Linked DNA regions of Homo sapiens: all the other regions are linked to region 2. The links are contacts of gene promoters, found by promoter capture Hi-C in blood cells and fetal thymus (Javierre and others, 2016). All regions are on one chromosome and are shown on one strand. The core of a region is centred on a gene start or on the middle of the fragment in contact, and the rest is flanking DNA. Distances in the headings are between cores, read along the strand shown.

What was found. Contacts are between HindIII fragments. The CHiCAGO score rates a contact against its expected background, and 5 or more counts as called.
Region 1: the fragment with the promoter of CFAP418-AS1 here is called in contact with the fragment with the promoter of POP1 in region 2 in 1 of 17 cell types (M0 macrophages); the score reaches 5.4 in M0 macrophages.
Region 3: a contact is called between a fragment that was not itself captured here and the fragment with the promoter of POP1 in region 2, in 1 of 17 cell types (neutrophils). The highest score is 6.8, in neutrophils.

What each region holds. Positions count from the first base shown.
Region 1 is chr8:95,267,579-95,270,278 of GRCh38, reverse strand. CFAP418-AS1 (CFAP418 antisense RNA 1) reads right to left here and starts at 1,443. Exons shown (of 4, transcript NR_038209.1): 1 at 1,389-1,443. CFAP418 (cilia and flagella associated protein 418) reads left to right here and starts at 1,078. Exons shown (of 6, transcript NM_177965.4): 1 at 1,078-1,244. The coding sequence starts at 1,090. It overlaps TRS-AGA2-5 (tRNA-Ser (anticodon AGA) 2-5), which reads left to right and starts at 541; the gene lies at 541-622. RefSeq lists enhancers at 337-416, 453-1,092, 1,047-1,486. The HindIII fragment of the contact is 4,678 bases long and covers 1-2,700 here.
Region 2 is chr8:98,116,007-98,118,706 of GRCh38, reverse strand. It overlaps POP1 (POP1 ribonuclease P/MRP subunit), which reads right to left and starts at 1,414. Exons shown (of 16, transcript NM_001145860.2): 1 at 1,317-1,414. RIDA (reactive intermediate imine deaminase A) reads left to right here and starts at 1,536. Exons shown (of 6, transcript NM_005836.3): 1 at 1,536-1,675. The coding sequence starts at 1,611. RefSeq lists enhancers at 1,142-1,311, 1,382-1,431. The HindIII fragment of the contact is 6,678 bases long and covers 1-2,700 here.
Region 3 is chr8:100,152,419-100,155,118 of GRCh38, reverse strand. POLR2K (RNA polymerase II, I and III subunit K) reads right to left here. Exons shown (of 4, transcript NM_005034.4): 4 at 1,116-1,825. The coding sequence ends at 1,803. Among named protein-coding and RNA genes, the nearest start is that of POLR2K, 3.1 kb to the right of the region's middle. The HindIII fragment of the contact is 3,247 bases long and covers 1-2,700 here.

The sequences.
Region 1 (2,700 bases), core at 194-2,693, 2.8 Mb after region 2:
TTACACTTGTATCACGCTTTACACTTTTCAAAGTAGTGCTTTTATGGCACGGTGGGACTGTCTGACCCTGCAGAGTGAATTTAAATCGCTGGGTAATAGCTTTTTAATGTATAATGGGTGAAAAGATAGTCCTGGGAGCCGTTTGTCAAAGAGAAAGGCGAAGGAGTGGAACTGGCAGCCCCACAAGGAAGTCGGGAAGCTGGTTGGCCCCTACCCGGTTCCTGGTTCTCTCCTGGAAATGGCTCCAACATTGTGCAAGCAAGTGGGTGTGCAATAGTTTTGAGCACGCATCTCTCTCTCTGTCTCTCTCTCTCTCTCTCTCGGATTTAATTAGAATTTCCGTTTTTTCCAACAAAGAGTTGGACGGGATACGTTCTAAGACTTTTACAAACTGTAAAATGATGAGCGAGGTAACATTCAAATATGCTCTTAACAGAACAGCTCAGTAATGGTTTCCTCCACATCAAAACGTGCCTATTGCTGCAGCAGACGCTTATGCAGAGTCTACATGCACTCTCACCGCAAAAATTCACACAGCCAGTAGTCGTGGCCGAGTGGTTAAGGCGATGGACTAGAAATCCATTGGGGTCTCCCCGCGCAGGTTCGAATCCTGCCGACTACGGGAATGTCAGCTTTTTGCCGTCAACACTTACTTTTTGTGTTTTAGAGCGTTCTGCTCAAACCTTCCACAGATTTCAGGAATTTACAAACGGCTGAAACACAACAGGGACCCAAACGGGAGAGGAGAGAATGAAGGGGCGAGAATGCGTGCTTGTGGTTACAACGTGGGCCCGGGAGGGGGAGACGGGAGGAACCACGCCAGACATGCTGAAAGGAAGAAACGCAAAGCATCGCGAGTCACACAGACACACTGCAGAGACAGCTCCGAACTCTGTCCCTGCATACGCCCGCCCCTCACGAACCCACCGCGTTCTCTGCCGCGAGCCCTCGTGGGCGCCGGGTTGCCACGGGAAGCGGTGCGCATGCGCGGGGACGCCTAACGGGGCAGGAGCCCGCCAGGTCCCCTCGTTACTCCTGGAAACCACCGGAGCCTTGGCGATTGGAGGGGAAAAGGCCAGGCGATTCAAGATGGCGGAGGACCTGGACGAGCTCTTGGATGAAGTCGAGTCCAAGTTTTGCACACCTGACCTTCTAAGACGGGGTATGGTCGAGCAGCCCAAAGGCTGCGGCGGCGGCACCCACAGTAGCGACCGGAACCAAGCCAAGGCGAAAGAGACGCTCAGGTTAACCGGGCGGGAGGGGTGGACTGTTCTGGTAAAGCCCTGCTCCAGGCCCTAGAGCTGCCCCTCCGCCGCCCAACCCAAAAGAAACGTGCCCGCGACCTCCAGCCCCTCCTTGCATCAGGGTTCAGACCCTCAGCGCCCTACCCTCCGCGGCAGCGCATTCGTCGACCCTCTTCGCGGATTCTGGCACCTCTTCACTCAGCGCAGACTCCGCCCCCCGGCATGCCCCAGAGGGCTGGCCCCCGCCCCGCCCCGCCCCGCCCCGCCCCGCCCCGCCCCGCCCGCAGAGCCCGCAGTCCGCGCCAGTCTCCTTCATCCTGTTTCTGGCTGCCAGCGCGTAGGAGGTTCTAGTCGGGGACCGGGATACCCCTCAGGCGCCCCGTTCTTAACCCCGAGAGGGCTGTGCTGACCTCGGCCGCATTTTGCCTCTGTGTGGCCAAGCGGTTCTCATCTCCCTGTGAGGTGCCCTGTTAGACAGCCTCATCCCATTGCCTCAGACCCCACTCCCCAGGTCAATCCTATTTGTCTTTAGCTCAGTTTTGTTGTTTTGTTTGTTTTTTGAGATGGAGTCTCGCTCTGTCGCCCAGGTTGGAGTGCAGTGGCACGATCGTAGCTCACTGCAGCCTCCAACTCCCGGGTTCAAAGATCCTCCCACCTCGGCCTACCCTAGCTGGGATTACAGGCACGAGCCTGTAATCTGGGATTACGTAAACTGGGATTACAGGCACGAGCCCGGTTAATTTGTATTTTTTGTAGAGACAGTCTCACTGTGTTGGCCAGGCTGGTCTTGAACTCCTGAGTTCAAGCTGTCCTCCCGCCTCTGCCTCCCCTAACTGCTAGGATTACAGTTGCGAGCCATCGCACCTGACTCAGTTTGTTTTATTTTTTTAACTCAGGGAGTTAAGATGAGATTAAATTCATTACAAAAGGGTTAATTATTGTGAACATTAAACCGTCTACCTTCCTTCTCTCCATGGCCCCCTAGTTAAGGGTGCCAGACATACATATGGAAATTTAAGGACATTTCTTAAGGTATTTTGGTTTTTTATCTAAAAACTACCTTTCAAATTTACCAGTCGTTTTTCCTCCATGTAATTATTAAATAATAGGATTTCCTTCACTTCCTCATTTCCCCCACAACCCCTCAAAAAAAAAAAACAAAATGTTTGCATAAGAATATTGACCTTCAGTAACTCTTGCTAGAATCTTTTGGAAATTGCCTCTTGCCTAGAATATTTTGGAAACGCTTGTGAAATTACACGGAGGCAACTTTGGATCAATCTAAGAACGTCATCTCCGTTAATTTTTTTGCTGCATCTTTGGTTTGGTTTTGGTTTTTTGGTGTGTGTATGTGTGATTTCCCAAAGTATTATCCAACTCTGTTACTATCCAGTTCACCTGGCTTACCTCCAGTGATATTTATTTATTTTATTTACTTATTTATTTATTTTTGAGT
Region 2 (2,700 bases), core at 165-2,664:
CACCTGTAATCCCTGCACTTTGGGAGGCTGAGGTGGGAGAATTGCTTGAGCCCAAGAGTTGGAGACCAGCCTGGCCAATATGAAGAAGCCCCGTCTCCACAGAAAATACAAAAATTAGCCGGGCGTGCTGGTGTGCACTTGTAATCCCAACTACTTGAGATGCTCAGGCTGGAGGATTGCTTCAGCCCAGGAGGTCAAGGTTTCAGTGAGCCAAGATCATGCCACTGTACTCCAGCCAGGGTGACAGAGTGAGATCCTGTCTTGAAAGAAAGAAAACAAAGAAAAAGAAAAGGAAAGGAAGGAAAGAAGAAAAAGAAAAAAATGTGAATTGGTAGGAAAAGTCAAAGAGAAAATAGAATTTCAGTTAGCTGGAATTTGCACAGATAAGGAAGAAAGAGTATTCAGGAATCCACAGTGTGAATACAGGAGGACTCTAGTGGGAAAAGGGAGTAGATGACAATGAAACTTGAATAGGCAAGGGGAGGCCAGACTGAAAGGTCTTTTATTCCAGGCCCCAAACCAATGAAAAAGATCAGAAGGTTCCTGAGCCGGAAGTAGGAAGGCCAAAACCTTAGCAGTATGTAGGACAAAATGAGAGGGAATAAAGCAGATTTTCTTGTATTATCTTTAGGAAGCAGGGAAGGCAGAGATTTTATTATTATTTTTTTTAACTGTTGCATTCCTCCTAGCATCTAGCAGAGTGCCTTACACAAAGTAGGGACTCATATATCTATGAGTGCCCGCATAAATGAAGAAACGAAGCGTACTTACAATGCAAATATTAACAGGATAAGAAATATTTAGCCAAGTACCACCCCTTCTGACACAGCAGAATACTTACAAGGGATCTGGGCCATTCCAGATCACCATCTTTCTTTCTGAAATGATATCCCAATCACTAGGGCTCTGTTCAGACAGTGACCTTGTAAAGCCCGAGGAGCACCCTAGAGAAGGGAACACAGGAGGAGCAGGAAAGGGAACACGGGAGGACCAACGCCCAGATCTCAGCGTGGTCGCCAGAATGACCCATATTAGTCATTTGGGGTTGCAGAAGAGGGGATGCAAGCCCATTCCCAGGACGGCCTCCACCCGGCGGGGCAATGAAGGGAAATGACTGACGTAGGGGGCTCCAGCGCAGGGGCCGAAGGAGATGCGACACCAGGGAGAGGGGCCCCGGGCACAGGCAGCAAGGAAAGAGGTCAGCGGAGTCTGAGAGAGAAACGATGAAGAGGGGAGACGGGCGCCGGGAGGGGGGCCGCCGCATACAGTTCCCCCGACACTCGCATCCTGGAAGGCACCAGCCCCTCACGACCAACCTGCCAGACGCTGTGAGGAATCCCCGGGTCAGAATGACAAGCCTCCGCGACAGTACCCACCGAGCCAAAGCTCCTGGAGAGCGCGCTGGAGAGCGCATGCGCCAGACCGGGCGCTTCCTCCACGTGGCCTGGAGCGTCGCCGAAACTACAGTTCCCAGAATGCCGCACGAGCCCGCCCCCAGCGGGAGCTGTGGGGCAGAGGCGCTGCTGTGGTTGGTCAGTCCAGTAAGAAGCCAGCAGGGCTGGTGCTGGGGCTTCTTCTCCTGAAGGGGCTGCAAGAGGGAAGGCTTAGCCATGTCGTCCTTGATCAGAAGGGTGATCAGCACCGCGAAAGCCCCAGGGGCCATTGGACCCTACAGGTAACGTGGCTGGTGGAAGCTGTGTCGGACCCAGGGCGTGCGGGTTCGGGGATTCGGGGTTGGGGCCACTCCGGGCCGGAGCCCCAGCTAACACGCAAGGAAATTGAGCCTGGAAAGTAAGCAACGCGCCCGAAGACCCACAGAGAGTTGGGAGCCACGATGGGACCAGGAACCTGCACTCCATGGGACTTTGCTCGTTCTGGGGCTGCCTCGCTGCGGAGCACAGCCTGCCAGAAAGCTCTCCCCAGTTAGAAGCCTTCAGACCCTGTGTTTTGTTTTGGGGGAGGGGGTCGTTTTTGTTTTCTTGGTAACAGCTTTATTGAGATATAATTCACGTACCGTAAGATTCACCCCCTTTAACATGTACAATTCAGTGGTTTTGACCATACTCACAGAGTTGTGCAGCCATCACCACTTTCTTCAGAACATTTTCATCACCCCAAAAATAAATCCCATCCCCATTAGCATTCACTCCCCATTCTCCTCTCCCCCGGCCCCTGACAATCTACTTGCATCTTCATGGATTTGCTTGTTGTGGACATTTCCTATAAATTGAATCATAAAACATGCAGTCCTTTATGACCAACTTCTTTCATTAGCTTCATACTTGGTCTGCCTCTCTCCCAACTGAAAAGAGCCCCATCAACAGCTCCCTCCTTTAAACCTACTGCTGTGAGAAAAGGCACTGAGATGTGGCAGAACAGGAATTATTATAGAAAACTTGGAAATAAATAAAATGCAGTAGAAGTGAGAGGGCAAGTGGGGTAGGGAGTAAAGGAGAAAAAAGACAAATTGATTTTAACTTGGGGTGGAAGAGGAAAAAGAAGATTTAGGAAGGTTCCTTGTGAGAGGTAGTCCTTTGGTTTTGAAGGTTGGTTTTGTCATTTATAGTAGTGTTGTAAAGTTTGATTTTTAAATTAATTTATTAAGGATTTCAACAGGAAGTCATTGAGTGAAGGGCATGGAGGTAGAAGTCAGGTAGAGGGAATGGCTTGAGTGAGGGCATGGAGGTAGAAGAATGCATG
Region 3 (2,700 bases), core at 103-2,602, 2.0 Mb before region 2:
GAGAAGTATATTATCCCATAAGTTGGGGATTTATCTGTTTAGGGAACTGTCATAAAGAAATACCATGTATTGAGACTCCCATATCTAAAAAGTTCAAGAAGGAATATACTAAAATTATAAAATTATGAAAGCTCAATTTCATTGCCAGCCTGGGCAATGTAGTGAGACTTCATCTCTACTAAAAATCAAAATAATCAGCCAGCATGGTGGTGTGTGCTTGCAGTCCCAGCTATTCAGGAAGCTGAGGTGAGAAGATTGTGTAAGCCTGGGAGATGGAGGCTGTAGTGAGCTATGATCATGCCACTGCACTCCAGTCTGGACAACAGAGGGAGACCCGGTCTTAAAAAAACAAAACAAAACAAAAATCTGAGCATGGAAGTATTTCATATAGCATGTAATAAATTTATAGAATTTAATATATGAAGATGGTGGTAAAAATGCAGGGTTTTTTTTAACAAAGTATTATGGACAATATTTTGAATGTCAAAGACAGACATAACTATTAATAAAGTTGGAATACATCTAATCTTTAAAATGCACATCAGGCTGGCCAACATGACATTCCACAACCATGGAATCCTTGAACAGAATAGCGTATAAGTGTGACCATTAATTCTACATCCCAAAGATCAAGGCTGAAGACTTAAACATTTATCCAATAATTCAGTGTAAACCAACGCTCCCCTCCCCAGCCCTTGACTCAGGGTGTTGCACTGTCCATCAGGCTGGAGTGCAGCAGCATGATTATGGCTCACTGCAGCCTCAAACTCTTGGGTTCAAGTGATCCTCCCATCTCAGCCTCCCGAGTCACTGCCTGTTCTTTTTATATCCTAAAAGCAGAACTGTTGACCTTAATGAGTGATTACACCTTGGAAACTGCACTTGGCTTAACAGCCTGCTTCATTCACTTTGCTTGGGGTTGATTTTGCCTTACAGAAAACAATTAAAGTTTCCCTTCATTATTCTGAGATTTAAAAGAGAACCAAGCATTATATGAAAATACAGAAAGGCCTATACCTAGTAATAAATGAAAAACTGAACTCAAGATGACATATGCATACTGACACCAAGCACAATGGTATACTTCATATCAAATGACACAGTGACACAGGACAGTGGTTTGCAATAAATTTATTTAATCAGAACTTCAGAGGGTTCTAGAAACCTGCATTTTTAACAAGGACTGCAGATGATTCTAGGTTTTGATTAAAAGTGTGGTTTGGGGAAGCAACTTTACCCTTTATTGTGTGTTAAATTACATATACAATAAAACAAAAAGTCACGTAATGGAACAAAAAATTGCTTTATACAAAATATTAGTAGATACCCAAATATAATATGGTCTTAAAAATAAAATCATATGTATATAGTTGTATTCCTAAGTACAGTAGTGCCCCCCTCATCCAAAGTTTCCCTTTCTGTGGTTTTGGTTACCTGTAGTCAACCACATTCTAAAATAGGTGAGTACTGTACAAGAAGATATTTTGAAAGCAAGAGAGACCAACCACATTCACATAACTTTTATTATAGTATGTTATCATTGTTCTATTACATTATTATTAATCTCTTGCTATGCTTAATTTATACATTATACTTTATCATAGGTATATATATATGGAAAAAACAGTGTATAAAGGTTTGGTACTGTTTGAGGTTTCAGGAGTTCACTGGGGGCCTTGGAATGTATCTCCCGAAGATAAGGGGGAACTACTGTAAGCAAAATCGAAAGCTATACAACAATCAGAAATGGGAAGAGAGCAAATCCAAGTATAAGTGAAGACATTCCTCTGAATTCCCAGCATTCATCGAGCATCAAAAACGACCACTGTATTAATTTGAGTTAAGGACAAAAACGGTACTTAAACATTATTAAGACTGAAGGTTTCAAAGTCACTTTCTCTTTGCAATAAGCTGGTTTGTTATTTAACTTAAAATGCAAAAAAGAATGGAATTCACTATTTACTATGACAACTGGTTTTTAAATAAACTAAAAACACTTTCAATTTTTATTACCACCTTTTCCATAAAATGTATCAAAAAACACTAAAGCAGGCCAGGCGCAGTGGCTCACGCCTGTAATCCCAGTACTTTGGGAGGCTGAGGTGGGCGGATCACGAGGTCAGGAGATCGAGACCATCCTGGCTAACATGGTGAAACCCCATCTTTACTAAAAAATAAAAAAAATTAGCCGGGCATGGTGGCGGGTGCCTGTAGTCCCAGCTACTCAGGAGGCTGAGGCAGGAGAATGCCATGAACCCGGAAGGCAGAGCTTGCAATGTGAGCCGAGATTGCGTCACTGCACACCAGCCTGGGTGACAGAGCGAGACTCCGTCTCAAAAAAAAACAAAAAACAAACAAAAAAAAACACTAAAGTAATGTTAAAGCGGATAATCCGTCGATTTACAATGTGTGTTAGTTGTATCATAACAATTTACTCTGTATTTTATTTTTCCACATGGGGGTCACACTATGTTGCCCAGGCTGGTCTTGAACTCCTGCAGCCTCCCAAAGTGCTGGGATTATAGGTGTGAGCAACCATGCTGGGCCTACTCTCAGTATTTGAACAATTTGTATGCCCAACTTTTTCCATTAGGTAGTATACACAATATTTGTATTTCTCCTCGTGAACTTTAGCTTGTCCATAAACTGAAGCTCAAGAATGAATACTTATATAAATGTAGTCATGCACCCATAATGACG